Regions from separate parts of the Homo sapiens genome. Here region 1 is linked to region 2. The links are contacts of gene promoters, found by promoter capture Hi-C in human tissues and cell types (Jung and others, 2019). All regions are on one chromosome and are shown on one strand. Each heading gives the region's core, a stretch centred on a gene start or on the middle of the fragment in contact. The rest is flanking DNA. Distances are from core to core; before and after follow the strand shown. Region 1 overlaps PLS1 (plastin 1). Region 2 holds the start of PLS1 (plastin 1).

The links. The method cuts DNA at HindIII sites, captures the fragments that hold promoters and counts their contacts. A contact is called where the count stands out against the background at its distance.
Region 1: a fragment that was not itself captured here is called in contact with the fragment with the promoter of PLS1 in region 2 in 4 of the 25 tissues and cell types used here (bladder, hippocampus, liver and 1 more).

Annotation. Positions count from the first base shown.
Region 1 is chr3:142,697,518-142,701,510 of GRCh38, reverse strand. PLS1 (plastin 1) reads right to left here. Exons shown (of 16, transcript NM_001145319.2): 12 at 3,444-3,558. Among named protein-coding and RNA genes, the nearest start is that of TRPC1, 25 kb to the left of the region's middle. The HindIII fragment of the contact is 4,919 bases long and covers 1-3,993 here.
Region 2 is chr3:142,595,029-142,598,589 of GRCh38, reverse strand. PLS1 (plastin 1) reads right to left here and starts at 2,197. Exons shown (of 16, transcript NM_001145319.2): 1 at 2,081-2,197. It overlaps PLS1-AS1 (PLS1 antisense RNA 1), which reads left to right. Exons shown (of 4, transcript XR_001740938.2): 4 at 1,293-2,681. RefSeq lists an enhancer at 1,902-2,141. The HindIII fragment of the contact is 14,749 bases long and covers 1-3,561 here.

The sequences.
Region 1 (3,993 bases), core at 912-3,411, 100 kb before region 2:
GTATGGTAGTACAGGTTGAGCATCCCTAATCTGAAAATCCAAAAATCCAAAATACTCCAAACTCTAAAACTTTTTGAGCACCAACACAATACTCAAAAGAAAAGCTAACTGGAGCATTTCAGATTTTCAGCTTAAGGATGCTCAACCAGTATACTGCAAATATTCCAATATCTGAAATATGTCTGGTCCCAAGCATTTTGGATAAGGGATACTCAACCTGCAATTAAAACACTAAAAACAGATCTGCTCCCTGAGGGTGTAAATATAAAAGTTAAGACCTTTGGCCCAAGAACCAGGCCTTGGAAATACTGAGTTCTCAGGCTAAAAGATGAAGAACCTATGCAAGGTAAGAATGAGCACAAAGAAAGCAAGAAAAACTTGGAGTGCAGTCTCACAGAGTTAATGGAAGAAATGATTACTGTATTAGTCTGTTTTCACACTGCTGATAAAGACATATCCAAGACTGGGAAGAAAAAGAGGTTTAATTGGACTTATAGTTCCACATGGCTGGGAAGGCCATAGAATCATGGCAGGAAGCAAAAGGCACTATTTACATGGTGGCAGCAAGAGAAAATGAGGAAGATGCAAAAGCGGAAACCCCTGATAAAACCATCAGATCTCTTAAGTCTTATTCACTACAATGAGAACAGTATGGGGGAACTGCCCCCATGATTCAAATTATCTCCCACTGGGTCCCTCCCACAACACATGGGAATATGGGAGTACAATTCAAGATGAGATTTGGGTGGGGACACAGCCAAACCATATCAATTACCAAGTACTTTAAATGCTTTGGACAAAAATGAAGCTTAGATCATTTAGACAATGAGAAGAGTTACATAATGGGACACAAGGGTTCAAGTGAAAAGAAATACTTAAAAGTAAAGAAGGCCGGGCACAGTGGCTCACGCCTGTAATCCCAGCACTTTCGGAGGCCAAGGCGGGTGGATCACGAGGTCAGGAGACAAGACCATCCTGGCTAACACGGTGAAACCCCGTCTGTACTAAAAATACAAAAAAATTAGCCGAGCGTGGTGGCGGGCGCCTGTAGTCCCAGCTACTTAGGAGGCTGAGGCAGGAGAATGGCATGAACCTGGGAGGCAGAGCTTGCAGTTAGCCGAGATCATGCCACTGCACTCCAGCCTGGGCAACAGAGCGAGACTCCATCTCAAATAAATAAATAAATAAATAAAATAATAATAATAATAATGAAGAAGAAAGGCTATTTTAATGGTGCAGCTTTAAGAACTTTGTAAGCGAAGGAAAGTGACATGTATTGATTATTGCCCAAATTCCATAAAATAATTCCCTGTGATACTGTGTCATGAAAGTACTGCTTCTTCATTTTTTAAACATCTTGAATTTATTTCAGGCTTTATGTTTCATTCTGTATTTGTTGAAAAAGTATTCTGCATATGATTCATTTGTGACATATGTATTTATTTGTAGTTCACATTAAAATTCCAGGTATAATGAATGGTTAATTTCTGTTTTCCTGTTACATTTTGCATTCAAAATTTTGGAGAAAAAACTTACATGAAATTAGTCAATAAATTTTCTGAATTCTACTCCCATGAAAAGAATTATATGCAAATCAAATGAAATTAAAAATGCAGGCAGTCCAATGACTAGAAATGCTGAAACATACGAGTAACTCTTTATAATTATACCACCCATTTAACTACTTTAATATTATGATGTATTTCCCTTTAAAAGTCTTTTAAAATTTTTTTCTTTAAAATTAGTGTCTATAAATACATTTTCATTCTATAGATGTGGAAAACTAAAAGTCCCTTTTGAATACATCTCTGTATGTGTTATGTATTTTGAACAAATTAGATTCATATTATGTATATATATAATTTTGTGTCCTGCTCATTTCCATACCACTATTACTAAAACACTATTTTTTGTTTGTTTGATTATACTTTAAGTTCTGGTATACATGTGCAGAACATGCAGGATAGTTAACATAGGTATACATGTGTCATGGTGGTTTTCTGCACCCATCAACCCATCATCTAGGTTTTTGTTTTGTTTTGTTTTGTTTTTTGAGACAGAGTTTTGCTTTCTCACCCAGGCTGGAGTGCAATGGCACATCTCGGCTCACTGCAAACTCTGCCTCCCGGGTTCAAGCCATTCTCCTGCCTCAGCCTCCCGAGTAGCTGGGATTACAGGCACCCACCACTACGCCTGGCTAATTTTTTGTATTTTTAGTAGAGATGGGCTTTCACTATGTTGGCCAGCCTGGCCTCGAATTCCTGACCTCATGATCCACCTGCCTTAGCCTCCCAAAATGCTGGGATTACAGGTGTGAGCCACTGCACCTGGCCCCCATCATCTAGGTTTTAAGCCCTGCATGCATTAGGTATTTGTCCTAATACTCTCCCTCCCCTTGCCCCCCAACCCCTGACAGGTCCAGGTATGTGATGTTCCCCTCCCTGTGTCCATGTGTCCTCATTGTTCAACTCCCACTTATGAGTGAGAACATGCAGTGTTTGGTTTTCTGTTCCTGTCAAACACTATTTTTAATGGCACATTTTACTTCATCTTATGGGTGTATCAATTTTATTAACCCTTTACTGAACAACTAGGTTGTTTTCTTGTGTGCTGTATAAACATTGCTATGATTAGCATTTTGCCACCCAACTTTGTGTCTTTCTGATTTTTTCATCAGGATAGGTGGAAAAAGGTGAAATTAGGTCAAAAGATTTTTTGGAAGATTAATATGTATTGACAAACTGGTTTTAGAAGGATTATACAAATGAATACTTCCTCTTACATTGGATGCAGTTCAATAGTTTCTTGTTTTAAATTGCATTTCTTTATTCTGGGTGAAAAGTTTTTCATATTTCTATTATTCATCATTATTTTTCTATGAATTGTTCATTCATGTGTCTTTCCCATTTTGCTATTACTATTTCAGTAGCTCTTCAACTTTCTTCCCTAGAACTCATAATATTCACTTTTGTTTACCATGTACCATATTGTAGTTGTTTGCACACATATTTCCCTAATTTATTTAGGCTTTCCTGAGGACCAACTCCATGCTTTATACTTTTTTTTTTTTTTTACATCCTGCATAACACTGTATAGGTATTAGGTAATTGATAAATATCTGTTGAATAAATGAGTGGATAACCAATAAACATTCAGAACGTTATACCAATTGTAAAAAAAGAATACATTTACAGGACATCTCAAAGAACATTAAGTACTATGACTTGATAAAGATGAAAATAGTTATATAAAGTGTCTGACTAGAGGGATTGCCTTCATCTTCAAATTTATTAAAGCAAACTTGTAAAAAGGCTATTAAGCTTAACACATTTTGGTCTGAATCAGAATTGTGGGGACAGAGCACGTATAACTTCATGAAACTCTAAATTCTTTGTTTCATATCAGAACAATAACAATATATCCATGGCCATTATTTCATTCACCTTCTTCATGTTCCCTCCAAGGGCAGGATAAGGAGGTTTGTTGACATGGCTCCAGTTGACTGGCACTCGGATCATCTCATAGAGCTGAAAGATCACTAAAGCATCTGCAAGGTCACTGAAGCAGGAAGGAAAAGCAGATAAAGGAGGAGGAAATGTTGGGTATTACCTAATTTTATTAAGTACACTGGAGATAGACTTATATCTTTAAGAACATAAGTCATTTAATTCTTAAAGAATGACAGGACATATCATTTGACCCAGAACTTCCAGTCTAAGAATCTGTCCAAAATGTTTACATAAATATTTACAAAGGTATACATCCAAGGACATTCATTGCCACAATATTTATAAATTTGGAAACAACTTAAGTGCCTGGCAGTAGGGAGCTGTTAAGTAAACTATACTATAAACTCCTTGGCCACCATTGGACATAAGGTAGATCTCTATGTATTGATATGAAAAGCTTTGCAAGACATATCAAATTTTAAAAAGAAAATGGCAGAACACTTCATACAATTTGATCTCATTTATTTAAAAAAATTTAGAGTCA
Region 2 (3,561 bases), core at 948-3,447:
ACATTTCTTAATTCTGTGCCCTCTTTTCTCCACTTTGAGTCACAGGCTTAATCCAGGGCCTGGACCAACTGACCCGTGTTTTTACGCCTGTCTCCTGTAATCCCCCTAACTAATCTGTGATCTGTTATCAAAATATGAGGAATCAGAAATGGACTTGGCTGCTGTCTTGATACAGCTCTAACATGGCCTTCCCCATATTATAGAACACACATGAAATCTCTTTACAAAACTATACATACTGCACTTCCTTCCCCCACTCCCTCCCACAAACAGGGGCTAAGAATATACTTTGTGCTTAGTGCTGGGTGGGATGTTTAAGTCATAGGCTTTAACCTCCAAGAGCTTACACAACCTGCCAACTTCCTGGTCGGGAAGTTGGGAGGTGCTAAAATACTCAGGATACTATATACAATGGGGATACTAACAGCACAAACAACAGTAGTAAGTGCTATAGGGTTCAGAAGAGGGAGAGCTACTTCATGCTAAGGCAATCAAGGAAGGCTTCCAAAAAGAGGTCACACCTGAGCTACACCTTGCAGCATGAGCAGGACTTCAATACGGAAAGAGGGAGGCAAACAGGCATTTTGGGCAAAGGGCCCAGGTGACTGAGGGAAGGAAGGAGGGCGTTTTCAGGACCAGCAAATTGTTAGGTGGGGCTTCAGTGAAAGGGCACTTTTTGAAAGGAATTTATGAGGTACTAGGAAGCTTAGTAAGAGAAACAACTAATTTTCTGCTTAAGCCAGACTTCATGGTATAAGTAGAAGAGAAAAAGGAAGTTTAATAATGGAGGTAAAGAAGAGTATCTGCAGGGAGTGGTAAAAAGACCCCAGAAAATGAGAAAACCTGGATCCCAGGCCTAGCTTTGCCAATGAGGGGCTTGGGTGGCCACAGCAAGTCATCTAACCTCGCTGGTCTCAGTTTTCTCATTTGTAAACTGAAGCAGCTGAACTGGCTGACCTCAAAGGTCTCTACAGCCAAAACTAGACCAGCTGTATATTATTTCTGCCATTAAAACATTTATCATGGGAGGAATGAAGGGGGGCAGGATACCTGTATTCCCTTTCCATATAGGTTTCTCTTCCTGAACTTAAAATTTCCTCTTCCTAAACTTACTACCTCTCTCTCTATATATATATATGCCTCCACATTACACATTAACACTTTACTATAGAATTTCATTACATAATTCAACTTAAAGGAAAGCTGATTACAAAGGTGGTGGGGGGTGTAAAAGTACTTGCTTCAAGTTCAGTGTGTGCCCCCTGTCCTGAAATTTTGCTTCTGGCTCACAGGTTCTTCAAGAAATTTATGCAGCACAGCTGAAGCCTCATACAAGTGTATCCAACACCGTGGCTGGAGGGAAAGATATCACGGTATAAGCCATAAAATGTGACATAGTAAGTAAGTAAAGGAGGAAAAGTGAGAATTCTGTTACTCATCTAAACGACCGCTTCCTTTTAATAGTACCAAATGAAGACCGAAATACAGTAATAATTGAAAAGTTAGGGAGAAATCTTAAATTTTTTTAAGTCTCCACTTGAAAATGCAGCTGAAACACGGAAAGTTTTTTGGCAGTGAAATTCGCTGAAAACTGACATTTTTATGCCGCATCCAGAGGTCCCTATGCTCCAGGAAAGGTACCAAAAACAGCACGGATGGGATTTCACTACAGCCCTATTGATCCTATGCACCAAAAGGCCAAAGGCAAATAAACCAGTCCCAGAATTAAAACAAAACAGGCTGGTTCAGAAAGCCTCACCGGCAGCCACCCAAAGTTGAAAGAAGAAAACTTAATGAAATACCTTATTTCATTGCATAGAATCACAATTCAGTTAACAGGCTTATTGTTTAAGCAGTGTAAATACGCGATTTAACACCTGCGGGCACTGCCTGCCGGGACTGGGCAGAAGCGTGCCCAGAGGACGGCGGGCGCCACACTGCACAGCCAGGAGACGAGACGCGAGCGAGGGGACCCGGAGATACTGCCCCCGAGCCGCCGCGCGCCCCCAAAGGAGTAACGCTTCGCTTTCCATCTGTCTGTCCAGCCTTCCTTTTGGGCCCTATCCCCACCCCCGCGTACCTGCCGCCACCGCTGTCCTGCCTTCGAGAGGGCAGCTCCCACTGGAGATCCAAGTACCTGCAGGTCCACTCTGCGGCTACCTCTCCGCGCCCGCGTAGCCGCTGCGCTCGCGCCACTGCGCATGCTCGGCCGGCACCCGGGCCCGCAAACTCTGAATCCACTTGCCGCGTTTTGCCTGCGGCTCCCAGGGGAGGGAAAGGGAAGCCCAGAACCTGGGTTTAGGCTAAGGGTGAAAGAGGAGTTGCAGGCGCTGGGAGCGTGGATGGGGAGAGGTGGACGGGCGCTGCGGCAACGTTATCTCTACCGCCCACAGTTACCCAAGTCTAAAGATGACCACCTACACCCTGGGAATGAGTTTAGCACAGCAGTTCTCAAACTTGAGCGTGGATCAGAATCACCTGGAGAGCTTTTTAAATCACAGATCCCAAACCCGGAAACTGAGTTTCCGATTCAGTTAGGTCTGGAGCGTAGCGCGACAGTTCCCATTTCTAACATGTTCTCAGCGAAAACTGGTGCTACTAGTCTGGGTACCACACTTTGGGACCTGCTGGTCAAAAGGAAAGGTATACGTTATTAAAGGAAGACTTGTTTCTCTCCCCTACTCTTTTTTTTTCCGTTTGTTTCACGGATTGCTTCCTTTTCCTTTAACAGCCACACCTGATTAAAATAAATATATAACTAAAGCCCACACTCAAACAAAAGTGGGATATTTTCTCTCGCATGTGAGTCAGGTAAATGGAATGCTGCCTCAAGAGTTCTCACATACTTTGCCTGAAGCATAATCCGTAGTTGTGGTCTGTCCAACTCAGTCCAGAGAACAGAACAAGGTTTTGCTGCCCCTTTAACTCAAAGTCCCACGTGCCCCTTCTGCGCCTAACACAATATCCAATACAGAATAGGCACCCAACCAACCCTGAGATGGTAACAATAGAAAAAATAAAGGGGGGAAGTTGAAATTATTTTAAGAACTCAAACAAATTGGACGAGCAATGAACTATGAAAGTAGGTGGGCCATGGAGAGGGAAGATAAGGAATTTTTCCCACCTGCCACCTAGAGAATCAGGTGAATTTAGTATTCTTATCTGATTTTTCCCACCTGCCACCTAGAGAATCTGGTAAATTTAGTATCCTTATCTGATACTTATTTATCTAGATATGCAAGGGGAGTTAAGTAAGTTCTCACAAAATAAAGCAAAATATTTCCTTAAAAGGTAAACATACATCTAACATATGACCCAGCCATTTCATTCCTAGATGTTATCCAAGAGAAATTAAAACATATGCTTACACAAAAACTTGAACAGGAATGCTCATAGCAGCTGTTTTTCACAAAAGCCCCAAACCAGAAGGAACCCAACTGTCCAACAACATGTAAATGAAAAAACAAATTGTGGTATATTTATACAATGCAATACTACTCAACAATAAAAAAGAAGAAATACTCTCACACAGGACTCAATATGGATAACTCTCAAAATCGG